Regions from separate parts of the Homo sapiens genome. Here region 1 is linked to region 2. Evidence: promoter capture Hi-C in 16 types of primary human blood cells and fetal thymus (Javierre and others, 2016). All regions are on one chromosome and are shown on one strand. Each heading gives the region's core, a stretch centred on a gene start or on the middle of the fragment in contact. The rest is flanking DNA. Distances are from core to core; before and after follow the strand shown. Region 1 holds the start of ZNF324B (zinc finger protein 324B). Region 2 holds the start of ZNF543 (zinc finger protein 543).

The links. The method cuts DNA at HindIII sites, captures the fragments that hold promoters and counts their contacts. A CHiCAGO score of 5 or more calls a contact.
Region 1: the fragment with the promoter of ZNF324B here is called in contact with the fragment with the promoter of ZNF543 in region 2 in 1 of 17 cell types (neutrophils); the score reaches 5.9 in neutrophils.

The regions. Positions count from the first base shown.
Region 1 is chr19:58,448,103-58,453,647 of GRCh38, reverse strand. It overlaps ZNF324B (zinc finger protein 324B), which reads right to left and starts at 2,026. Exons shown (of 4, transcript NM_207395.3): 1 at 1,944-2,026. RefSeq lists silencers at 1,587-2,016, 1,994-2,320. The HindIII fragment of the contact is 9,897 bases long and covers 1-5,545 here.
Region 2 is chr19:57,317,242-57,322,745 of GRCh38, reverse strand. ZNF543 (zinc finger protein 543) reads right to left here and starts at 2,274. Exons shown (of 4, transcript NM_213598.4): 1 at 1,875-2,274. The coding sequence starts at 1,892. It also overlaps the pseudogene LOC100288211. RefSeq lists enhancers at 2,176-2,325, 2,336-2,455, 3,381-3,898 and a silencer at 4,971-5,265. The HindIII fragment of the contact is 3,609 bases long and covers 1,287-4,895 here.

The DNA.
Region 1 (5,545 bases), core at 777-3,276, 1.1 Mb before region 2:
GAGCCAGGACCAAGCTCCCCATCCCAACAGTCACCTCCCCCAGTGTCCCTCCTTCCTTGGGTTCCACCCCGAGATTATCTTCAGGTGGCACTTCCCTCACCTGTCTGGGACCCCTCCCCTCTGCCCTCCTGGTCCAGGCCCCAGATGGCTTCTTGACTTCCCCACTGGCCACCCCTACACAAGCAGGCTAGAGCAAGCCCTGGCTGGGCCCTTAGCTGCCACACCAAGGGCAGCCCCAAATATCCACTCGTGACTCAGCATGACCATTCATGACCCTCCCCAGATGTGCCCTTCTTGCTTTTGTAATAAGCAAGGGTGTAAGTCCCAGCTGTGGACCCCCCAGGCATGCCCATCACTGAGACCTTCCCCTGCTGCGCTTGCCTGACATTTCCAGGCTGCTCATCCAGCCTGAGGGACTGGATGATCCCCACCAGTCGTCATAGGGGTGCAGCCCCAAGAACCTGTGAACACAGGGGAACTCAATCCCTTCCTCCCTCCACATGGCGCCCCCTCCTCAATTTATTTATTTATTTATTTATTTATTTATTTATTTATTTATTTATTTTTATTTTGGAGACGGAGTCTCACTCCGTCACCCAGGCTGGAGTGCAGTGGGGCAATCTCGGCTCACTGCAAGCTCCGGCTCCCGGGTTCACGCCATTCTCCTGCCTCAGCCTCCCGCCACCACACCTGGCTAATTTTTTTGGATTTTTAGTAGAGACCGGGTTTCACTGTGTGAGCCAGGATGGTCTCGATCTCAGCGCTCCCGCAATTTCTTTCCCACATTGCTGCCACCCTCTCCTATTCAGCCACCTGCCGAACTCCTCCCCTGATAGCCTCAGGCACCCCAGCCGGTTTTCTTTACCCTCAAGCTGTAACTCCGCACGCCTGACTGCTCATCGCCTTCTTCAGTCCAGTTTATAGGCCCTGTCCTCAGCCCAGGACACCAACAACGTCAGGTCCAGTGACATGACCAACCTGGGACATCCCAGACTCTTGATCTTTCCCCTGAAGGAAACCTGCTTTCCTTTCAATTCTCCTTTCTATCTACAGCAGCTCTCTTCTTCCAGGCGCTCAGGCTGAACAACATGGGGTACTTAGTTCTTCAAACAGCCCACACCTGATGCATCCGCAGATCCACCAGAATTCACCTGGTCGCCCACCTCCACTGCTGCCCAGACTGTGGCAGTCGGTTCTTCCCTTCATGCCGACACCCCTGCATGTCTGTTCTCCACGCAACAAACGGTGGAACCGTTTTAAAGTCCCAACTCAGAGGATGTCCTGATTCTGTTCAAAACTTCTATGTCTCCCGACGCCCTCGAGATAAAGCCCACTCCCTCGCCTGCTACTGCAGCCGCACACATCCCCTCTACTCCAGCTCCACATCGAGAGCGCTCAGTCCCAGAAGCATCTGGGCTTCGGCTCCCCTCCCAGGTTTTGCACACGCAGGACTCTCCCCTCGGAGCCTCCTTCGGGACCTCAGCCCCCTGGCTGCCGGAAGTCGGGAGCTCACCAGTGCCCTGGACGCAGGAGTTTGCACTGACCCCCGCAACCCCCCCAGGGCAGGGAGAGGAAAGACGACTAGGCGAGGTCTAGGAAGCGGCCTCACTCCGTGGGGGCGCAGTCTGTGTGAGCAGGGACTCCCCCGCCCCCCCGGCGCGGGCTTGTCAGCGCCACCGCCGCCAGCGGAACCCGCAACTGGGAGGGAAGAAAGGCATGGACCACCCGGGACCGCCATCCCCGCCAGCAGCCTCCCGCGGCTGCCCCGCGCCTCAGCCTGCCCGGCAGTCATGGGCGCAGAATGCCCAATGCGCTGCCTCCTGGGCTTCCGCGGGGCGGGAGAACGCGTGGTTCCCGCCGGGGCCCGACCGCCCCCGGGCCGACCACGTCATACTCGAAGATACCGAGGCTTGGGGGCGCGGCCGGCTGCTCGTGGTCCGTACCTTCCTGGCCGCCCGCCTCGGGCCCCGACCCGCGCGCCACAGCCCAGACCACCGGTGTGGCCTGACGCGAGCAGCCAAGTGACAGTCCCAACGCCGGAAGTCCAGCCCCCAGAGCTCACATTGCCCCAATACGCGCGCAGACGCTTGCGCACAGCCTTCTGGGTTATGTGGTTCCTGCCTGTTTTTCGGCGCGGAGGCGGGGCCATTACCAGTCTCCATGGCAACGGCTAAGCGCCGCCGCGCTGGGCGCCTGGAAATGGAGTAGCGCAGCTGCCGCGGGTTTCCAAGGGCTCCGTGGCACTGGTTGAGTCGCCCGGCAGGTTGTCCCGCGTTGGGGATTCCCAGTTCCTGGCACCCACCTAAGCAGCCCTGGAGACTAAACCCTGCAGGTGTGAAAGCAGAAACTGCGGAGGTTCCAGAAGGCAACACCAGCAGGTAGCAGGGAGGAGAAAACGCACCGGGTAGGGCAGGTGTAGGTGGAGGAGCAGATGCCTGGAGCTCCGGGTTCCCTTCCCAGCTTTGCATCTCACTGACTGTGCATCCTGGGCGAGGGTTTGATCTCTCTGTGTGTCAGTGTCCCGTAAAGGTTTAAGGTCCGTTTTTCAACCTCTACACCAAGAATTCTCAGCCTGTAATGACACTACCCGCTTGTCATTTGTCTTGATTCTGTGATTGTTCTTGGACGCTCGCCCAAAACTTGTTTTCCTTGTAACTTGGACGAGCAGAAGGTAATTCCCCAGCCTTGCTTGTCCTTAGACCATCTAGTTCTTGCTTTGCCCCACACATCACAACATGGATGCTTTGTTCCTTTTTTCTCTGGACCAATCTAAGTGTCTTTGACACATAACAACAAAAGGCAGGGCAGTCTCAATGTAGACTGACCATGTTGTTGGCAGAGAATAAACGATTCTCTCTTTGTTGCTTCCCTGTGAGGGTCTTGTTTTTAGGATCCTTAGACAGTTCTCAGATGTCAAGTACGTTAATTCATTTTGTCTTCCTCTATACCCACCTCCATCTATAAATATCTGTCTACTGTCAGCTATAACTGTCCACAGAATTGATTCTACTTGTAGATCCCTATAGTGTAAGATAGCTCGACAATTTTTGAATGTTTTTATTTAAATTTTTCCTGCTTTGAAAGAATTTAAGAACACTTAAGTACTATTGTGATTTAATCAAATGCTTAGAGGCATTATTAACATTTCAAGCAATTTTTTTTTACTTTTTTTTTTTTTTTTTTGAGACAGGGTCTCACTCTCTTACCCAGGATGGAGTGCAGTGGTGCATACTCGGGTCACTGCAACCTCCGCCTCCCATGCTCAAACAGTCCTCCAACTTCAGCCTCCCAAGTAGCTGGAACTACAGGCAGGAGCCACGATGCCTGGTGTATTAGTCTGTTTTCACGTTGCTGATAAAGACATATCTGAGACTGGGTAATTTATAAAGAAAAAGAGGTTTAGTGGACTCATAGTTCCACGTGGCTGGAGAGGCCTCACAATCATGACAGAAGGTGAAAGGCACGTCTTACATGGCAGCAGGCAAGAGCAAATGAGAGTCAAGCAAAAGAGGAAACCCCTTATGAAACCATCAGATCTCGTGAGACTTACTCACTACCACAAGAATAGTATGGGGGAAACTGTCCCCATGACTCAGTTACCTCTAACTGGGGCCCCTTCCACAACATGTGGGAATTATGAAAGCTACAATTCAAAATGAGATTTGGTTGGGGACACAGCCAAACCATATCATTCTGTTCCTCGCCCCTCCCAAATCTCGTGCTCACATTTCAGAACCAATCGTGCCTTCCCAACAGTCCCCCAAAGTCTACTTATTTCAGCATTAGCTCAAAAGTCCACAGTCCAAAATCTCATCTGAGACAAGGCAATTCCCTTCTTCCTATGAGCCTGTAAAATCAAAAGCAAGTTAGTCACTTCCTAGATACAATTGGGGTACAGCCGTTGGATAAATACACCCATTCCAAATGGGAGAAATTGGCCAAAAGAAAGGGGCTAAAGGCCCCACGAAAGTCTGAAATGCAGCAGGACAGTCGAATCTTAAAGTTCCAAAATAATCTCCTCTGACTCCATGTCTCACATCCAGGTCACACTGATACAAGCAGTGGGTTCCCATGGTCTTGGGCAGCTGCAGCTCTGTGGCTTTGCAGGGTACAGCCTCCCTCCCAGCTGCTTTCATGGGCTGGTGTTGAGTGTCTGTGACTTTTCCGGGTGCGTGGTCCAAGCTGTTGGTTGTATCTACCATTCTGGAGTCTGGAGGATGGTGGCCCCCTTCTCACAGCTCCACTAGGCAGTACCCCAGTGGGGACTCAGTGTGGGGTCTTCAACCCCACATTTCCCTTCAGCACTGCCCTACCAGAGGTTCTCCATGAGGGCCCTGCCCCTGCAGCAAACTTTTGCCTGCTCCAAATCTGGGCATTTCCATACATCTTCTGAAATCTAGGTGGAGGTTCCCAAACCTCAGTTCTTGAGTTCTGTGCACCCACAGGCTCAACACCACATGGGAGCTGCCAAGGCTTGAGGCTTGCACCCTCTGAAGCCACAGCCTAAGCTGTACCTTGGCTCCTTTTAGCCATAGTTCAAGCAGCTGGGATGCAGGGCACCAAGTCTGTAGGCTGCACACAGCAGGGGGAGCCCACGAAACCATTTTTTCCTCCTAGGCCTCTGGGCCTGTGATGGGAAGGGCTGCCACAAAGGTCTCTGACATGTCCTGGAGATATTTTCCCCATTGTCCGGGCGATTAACATTTGACTCCTGGTTACTTATGCAAATTTCTTGAATTTCTCCACAGAAAATGTGTTTTTCTTTTCTGTTGCATGGTCAGGCTGCAAATTTTCTGAACTTTTATGCTGTATTTCCCTTTTAAAACTGAATGCTTTTAATAATATCAAAGTCACCTCTTGAATGCTTTGCTGCTTAGAAATTTCTTCCACCAGATACTTTATTTTTATTTTTATTTTTTTTGAGATGGAGTCTTGCTCTGTCACCCAGGCTGCAGGGCAGTGTTGCAATCTTGGCTCACTGCAAGCTCCGCCTCCTAGGTTCATGCCAGTCTCCTGCCTCAGCCTCCTGAGTAGCTGGGACTACAGGCACCCGCCATCATGCCAGGCTAATTTCTTTGTATTTTTTTAGTAGAGACGGGGTTTCACCATGTTAGCCAGGATGGTCTTGATCTCCTGACCTCATGATCCACCTGCCTCAGCCTCCCAAAGTGCTGGGATTACAGGCGTGAGCCACTGCACCCGGACCAGATACTTTAAGTCATCTCCCTCAAATCCAAAGTTCCACAAATCTCTACAGCAGGGGCAAAATGCCACCAGTCTCTTTGCTAAAACATAGCAAGCATCACCTTTACTCCAGTTCCCAACAACTTCATCTCCATTTGAGACTACCTCAGCCTGGAGTTCATTGCCCATATCATTATCAGCATTTTGGTCAAAGCCATTCAACAAGTCTCTAGGAAGTTCCAAACATTCCCACATTTTCCTATCTCCTTCTGAGGCTTCCAAACTGTTCCAACCTCTGCCTGTTACCCAATTCCAAAGTTGCCTCCACATTTTCGGGTATCTTTATAGCAGTACCCCACTC
Region 2 (5,504 bases), core at 1,025-3,524:
ACAGCTCCTGAGTTCACCATCATCATCTCCATGTCACACTCAGAGACTTGAGGTCCAGGACCTCCACTAGTCTACCCAAAGTCACATCTCTTATCAGGAGAGACAGAATTTGAACCCAGGGCCCTATGGTCTATGTTCTAATCATGCAACCCGACACTCCTTCATTAGCAAAGTTAATGCACAGTTAATGAGGATGGGAAACATTGAAATACATCCATTTGAGCCACCCTGAAAATATTTTCAGGATTTTTTTTTTTTTTTTTGAGACAGGGTCTCAATATTTTGCCCAGGTTGGGCTTGAACTCATGATCCTCCTGCCTTAGCCTCCCAAGCTGGATATACAGACACATGCCACTGTGCTGGGGTTAGCCACTTGAAATATTTTCATGGACCTGGGCAGAGCAGCATAGTCATAATCACCTACCTCACAGAAGAGTCACCTGAGGTGGTGGCACCTGCCTCAAAAGTGGCAGGGCCTGGACCTGCATCTGCTGCCTCGGACACTTCTGGGCCTCACAGATGCCCATTCTCATAGGAAGAATCCACAACGAGCTATCACTACCTTTTCCTGTTTGAGTCCTACCAACAAGTATCCCTGAGGTCAGGATACTTCAGGAGCAAGGAACAAGAGTCACAGAGGACACAGCAGGTTGTAGCCATGAGAACATGGGCCCCTGACTGGCTATGTCTGTCCTGGCTAAGGAGGAAGGCACATCTAGCAAAAGACCACAAAATCTTGTGTCCCAAGACATGTGTCAGCTGGTATAGGAGAAAACCACTCAGGAAACCACTGTGGAAGCCACACGGGTCCCCTGCGGACTCCTTAAACAACCAATAAACCATTTTTTTTTAGTCCACACAGTTCCACCAGCATGAAATGCCATGACTCCTCATGTCCAAGACCACCTGCTAGAAGGAAGCCTGCTCAACTTGCAAAGTTTACTTTAGGTGTCACCCCCAGGCCTCCCTAACCATTGCGGGCAAAGAAGAGGGTAAAAACACAGGCTGTGATGGTAGACACACCAGTTGTTAGTTTCTGATACTTAAGAGCTACAGTGATGTAAGGCAGGTAATTGAACCTATGTGAGCCTCCAGCTGCTCTTGTGTAAAACAGTGAGGACAAGAGAACCTAATTCTAAGGAGTTCAGGATTAAAGGAGCTGAGGGTTAAATAATGCCTGCCAATCAGCCCACAGCAAGGACTCTTTATGATCAGCTGTCACTCTTTGCAATTATTTCGTTTCTCTTTGTTCACATAACATCCTAGACCAACTCAAACGGCAAGCTTCTTTAATATCGTCAGATTCTCTATACAAAAATGCCACACATTGCCAAAAATGGGCAAGTGCGTAAGGCGCCACTTTAGCCGGAATTGCCAAGAAAGCCACCTCCAAATAGGTGACATCTGGACAGAGGCCAGAAAGATATGAGAGGGAGGCCCTGCGAAGTTATAGGGGCAGTGTTCAAGGCAAAGGGAAGTGCAAAGAGAAAGCCTGGAAAAAGGAAGAAGACTGCACGGTCAGGTTGGTGGCTCTGAAGAGCAAAGGACAAGGGAAAAATGGAGAGACAAGGTCAGGGGTGGTTGGCCAGGTGGATGGGGTAGGGGCTGGCAGGCAACAGAGGAGGTTGGATTTAAGGGAAGTGTGATGAGATCCATGAAGGAAGCATCATTCATCCTTCTACCAAGGACTGAGCACCTGTCGGAGGCCAACACTATTGCAGGACTGCGGATAAAGGAAATGACAAGCTACGGCCACTTCTCTTAAATAAACGACGGCGACAAAGAAACATCCTGTGGCTGTCTTGGCTTCTGCCTGCCCACGAGGCCTCCAGAAGTAGCAGAGCAGCAGCAAGGCCAAAACCTCGTCCACTCACCTGCGCCGAGGCTGCCATCCTGAGACCCTGCAGCCCTAGCGGGGCCCGGGAATGCCGCGGCTCAGCCGACCCCCAGCCCTTCTCTGTCCTGGGCGGGGCGACCTCGGCTGACTTTCGCACTCGGAGCCTCAGTTTCCCCAGAGAAAAATGCGCACAAAGCGGGCGCAGCGTCGGGGCTGAGGAGACGGAGGGCGGCTGCGGAGGCCTAGGCCTCGGCAGGCGCCGGTGGAACACCCCGTTAGGGAAGAAGCGGGGCGTCAGGCTCCCGCCAAGATGCGGAGAAGGCGCGTAACAGCCTCATTACCCTCCCCTGCTCAGGCCGCTGGACGCGCCTACCCAGCGGTCCAGGCCCCACACTGTTCCAGGGCCAATCCTGCTCACGGAGATGACGTCACGCGACGAAGCGGAAGTCCCACCTCCGCCGCCCTGGCCCGCAGAAATCGCCCGTGTCCTGGCCCGTCATTGGCCTAGAGTCCGCGGCCGACGCAAGGGGTGGTGCCTTCTGAGTAAGGCAGTTTTTCCCTCACATCTACCGGGTGTGGGAACTCACCAAGCGCAGCCGACTCCATTTAAGTGCGCACAAGGACCCCCGCGTCGTCTTAGGGCCGCCGCTTTACTATGGGCACAAGTCGGAGGGTCGAAAGGTCCTTTCTAGCTTAGGAAAATTGAGGTCAGGAGGCGGGGATATTCGCCCCGATTGAGATCATGGGCTGGGCCCAGAGCTTCTGGCTCACTTCCCTTATTTTAGGGAGGTAGCTCATATATGTAATCTCAGTGCTTTGGGATGCCAACACAAAATAATTGCTGAGGTCAGGAGTTTGAGACCACCCTGGGCAATATAGTAAGATGTTATATCTACCAAAAAAAAAAAAAAGAGCAAGGCATGATGGTGTACACCTGTAGTCCTAGACACTGGGAGGCTGAAGCAAGAGGATTGCTTGAGCCCAGGAATTTGAGGTTATAATGAGATATGATGAGAGAAAACACACACACATAAACACACTGAGATGCCATCTTATACTGGTCAGAGTGGCTATTATTAAAAAGTAAAAAACCAACAGATGTTGGTATGGATGCAAGGAAAAGGGAACGCTTATATGCTATTGGTGGGAATGTAAATTAGTACAACCTCTATGGAAAACAGTATGGAGATTTATCAAAGAACTGAAAATAGAACTGCCATTTGATCTGGCAATTCCACTATTGGGTATTTACTTAAAGGAAAATAAACCACTATATCAAAAAGATGCCTGTACTTACATGCTTACTGTAGCACTATTCACAGTAGCAAAGTCATAGAATCAACCTAAGTGTCCATCGACAGATGATTGGATAAAGAAAATGCGATATATATATGTATATATATGTATGTATATGTATATATGTATATATATGTATGTATATGTATATATGTATGTATATGTATATATATGTATATATGTATGTATATGTATATATATGTATATATGTATGTATATGTATATATATGTGTATATATGTATGTATATGTATATATATGTATATATATGTATGTATATGTATATATATGTATGTATATGTATATATATGTATATATATGTATGTATATGTATATATATGTATATATATGTATGTATATGTATATATGTATATATGTATGTATATGTATATATATGTATATATATGTATGTATATGTATATATGTGTATATATATATACACTCCATGGAATACTACTCAGTCATTAAAAAAAATCATGGCTTTTGCAGCAATATGGCTGGAACTGGGGGGCCATTCTCTTAAGTGAAATAATTCAGAAACAAAGTCAAATACTGCATGTTATCACTTATAAGTGGTAGCTAAATGATGTATACATATGGAAATAGTGGAATAATAGACACTGGAGATTCAAAAAGGTGGGAGGCATTGCCGGGGACCCCTCACACCATGGTGCTTCACTCACCTACACCACAGCCATGCCACCCCATTGGCACACACTTGCAGGTAGCCCCCCTCTACTGCCCAAGTGGTGCACACTTGCCTGTGGCCTCCCCATCCCCCAGCCACAGTGCACTCTCTGCAGTCCCCACAATGCTCTGCTGGAGCACTTTTGCCAGCAGACTGAGAACACCTCAGCCCCTCTAGCACAGCAGGTGCTTCACCCCAAGCAGCCAGAGAACAAAGCCAAGGGCTTAATCCCCTCTACCCAGGTTTACAGCATGCAGCTCAGGAGTGCTCAGCTGAGCCTTGGCCTGTGAAAGCACCCATAATTGAAACCATGAAACTAAACCCAACTTATACCACAGTAAAACTCCCAAGGGCATCAAATAATATAAAAGCAGAAAGCCCCATCCAAAGGAGAGCAACTTCAAAGATTCAAGGAACATCAGCCCACACATATGAGAAAGAACCAGTGCAAGATTTCTGGCAACTCTAAAGGTCTCCAAACGACTGCACTAGCTCCCTAGTGATGGTTTGGAACCATGCTTAAATGGCTGAAATGACTTAGAATTCAGAGTCTGGATGGCAAGGAAGGAAAAATCCAAGGAAACCAATAATGCAATCCAAGAGTTTAAATATAATATTACCATATTAACAAAGAACCAAAATGGGCTGGGCACGGTGGCTCACGTCTGTAATCCCAGCACTTTGGGAGGCTGATGCGGGTGGATCACTTGAGGTCAGGAGTTCGAAACCAGCCTGACCAACATGGTGAAACCCTATCTCTACTATAAATACAGAAATTAGCTGGGTGTGCTGGCAGGCACCTGTAATCCCAGCTACTCGGGAGGCTGAGGCACAAGAGTCCCTTGGATCCAGGAGATGGAGGTTGCAGTGAGCCAAGATCATGCCATTGCACTCCAGCCTGTGCAACAGAGCAAGACTCCGTCTCAAAAAAAAAAAAAAAAAAAAAAAAAGAAAGAAAAAAAAGAAAGAAAAGAAAAAGAGTCATCAAACTGAACTTCTGGAAATAAGAAATTAACTACAGCAATTGCAATTTCATAATGTAACTGGAAGCGCTAACAACAGAATAGACCAAGCTTAGAAAATAGTCTCAGAGCTCAGTTTTTCCCCATGTGTCTGCCGCCTAGGGGAGGTGCCTCATCCGGAGCGGGCCGCCAGCTGTCCGGCCCTGTCCGCACAGAGGCTCCTGTCGTTGGCGCCCGGGAGTGGCTTGGCTGCCCGATGCTTCTGCCCCGGCTGCCACGGGCAGGGCTGTACGCTTAGTGCCCGGCTCAGGCCCCTTGAAGCGCCCGCGGGGGTGGGAGCGGCCTCCGGCCCCGCGGAGACCGAGCGGCTTGAGGACTAGGCGGCGGCCGCGGGGAGGAGGATGGGGGCTAACCAGTTAGTGGTGCTCAACGTGTGTGACATGTATTGGATGAAGGAATATACCTCATCCATTGGAATTGGAGTTTTTCATTCAGAAATTGAAGTCTATGGCAGAGAATTTGCTTATGGTGGCCATCCTTACCCCTTTTCTGGAATATTTGAAATTTCCCCAGGAAATGCTTCTGAACTAGGAGAACCATTTAAATTTAAAGAAGTTGTTTTAGGGAGCACGGACTTCCTAGAAGATGATATAGAAAAAATTGTAGAAGAACTGGGAAAAGAATACAAAGGCAATGTTTATCATTTAATGCATAAAAACTGC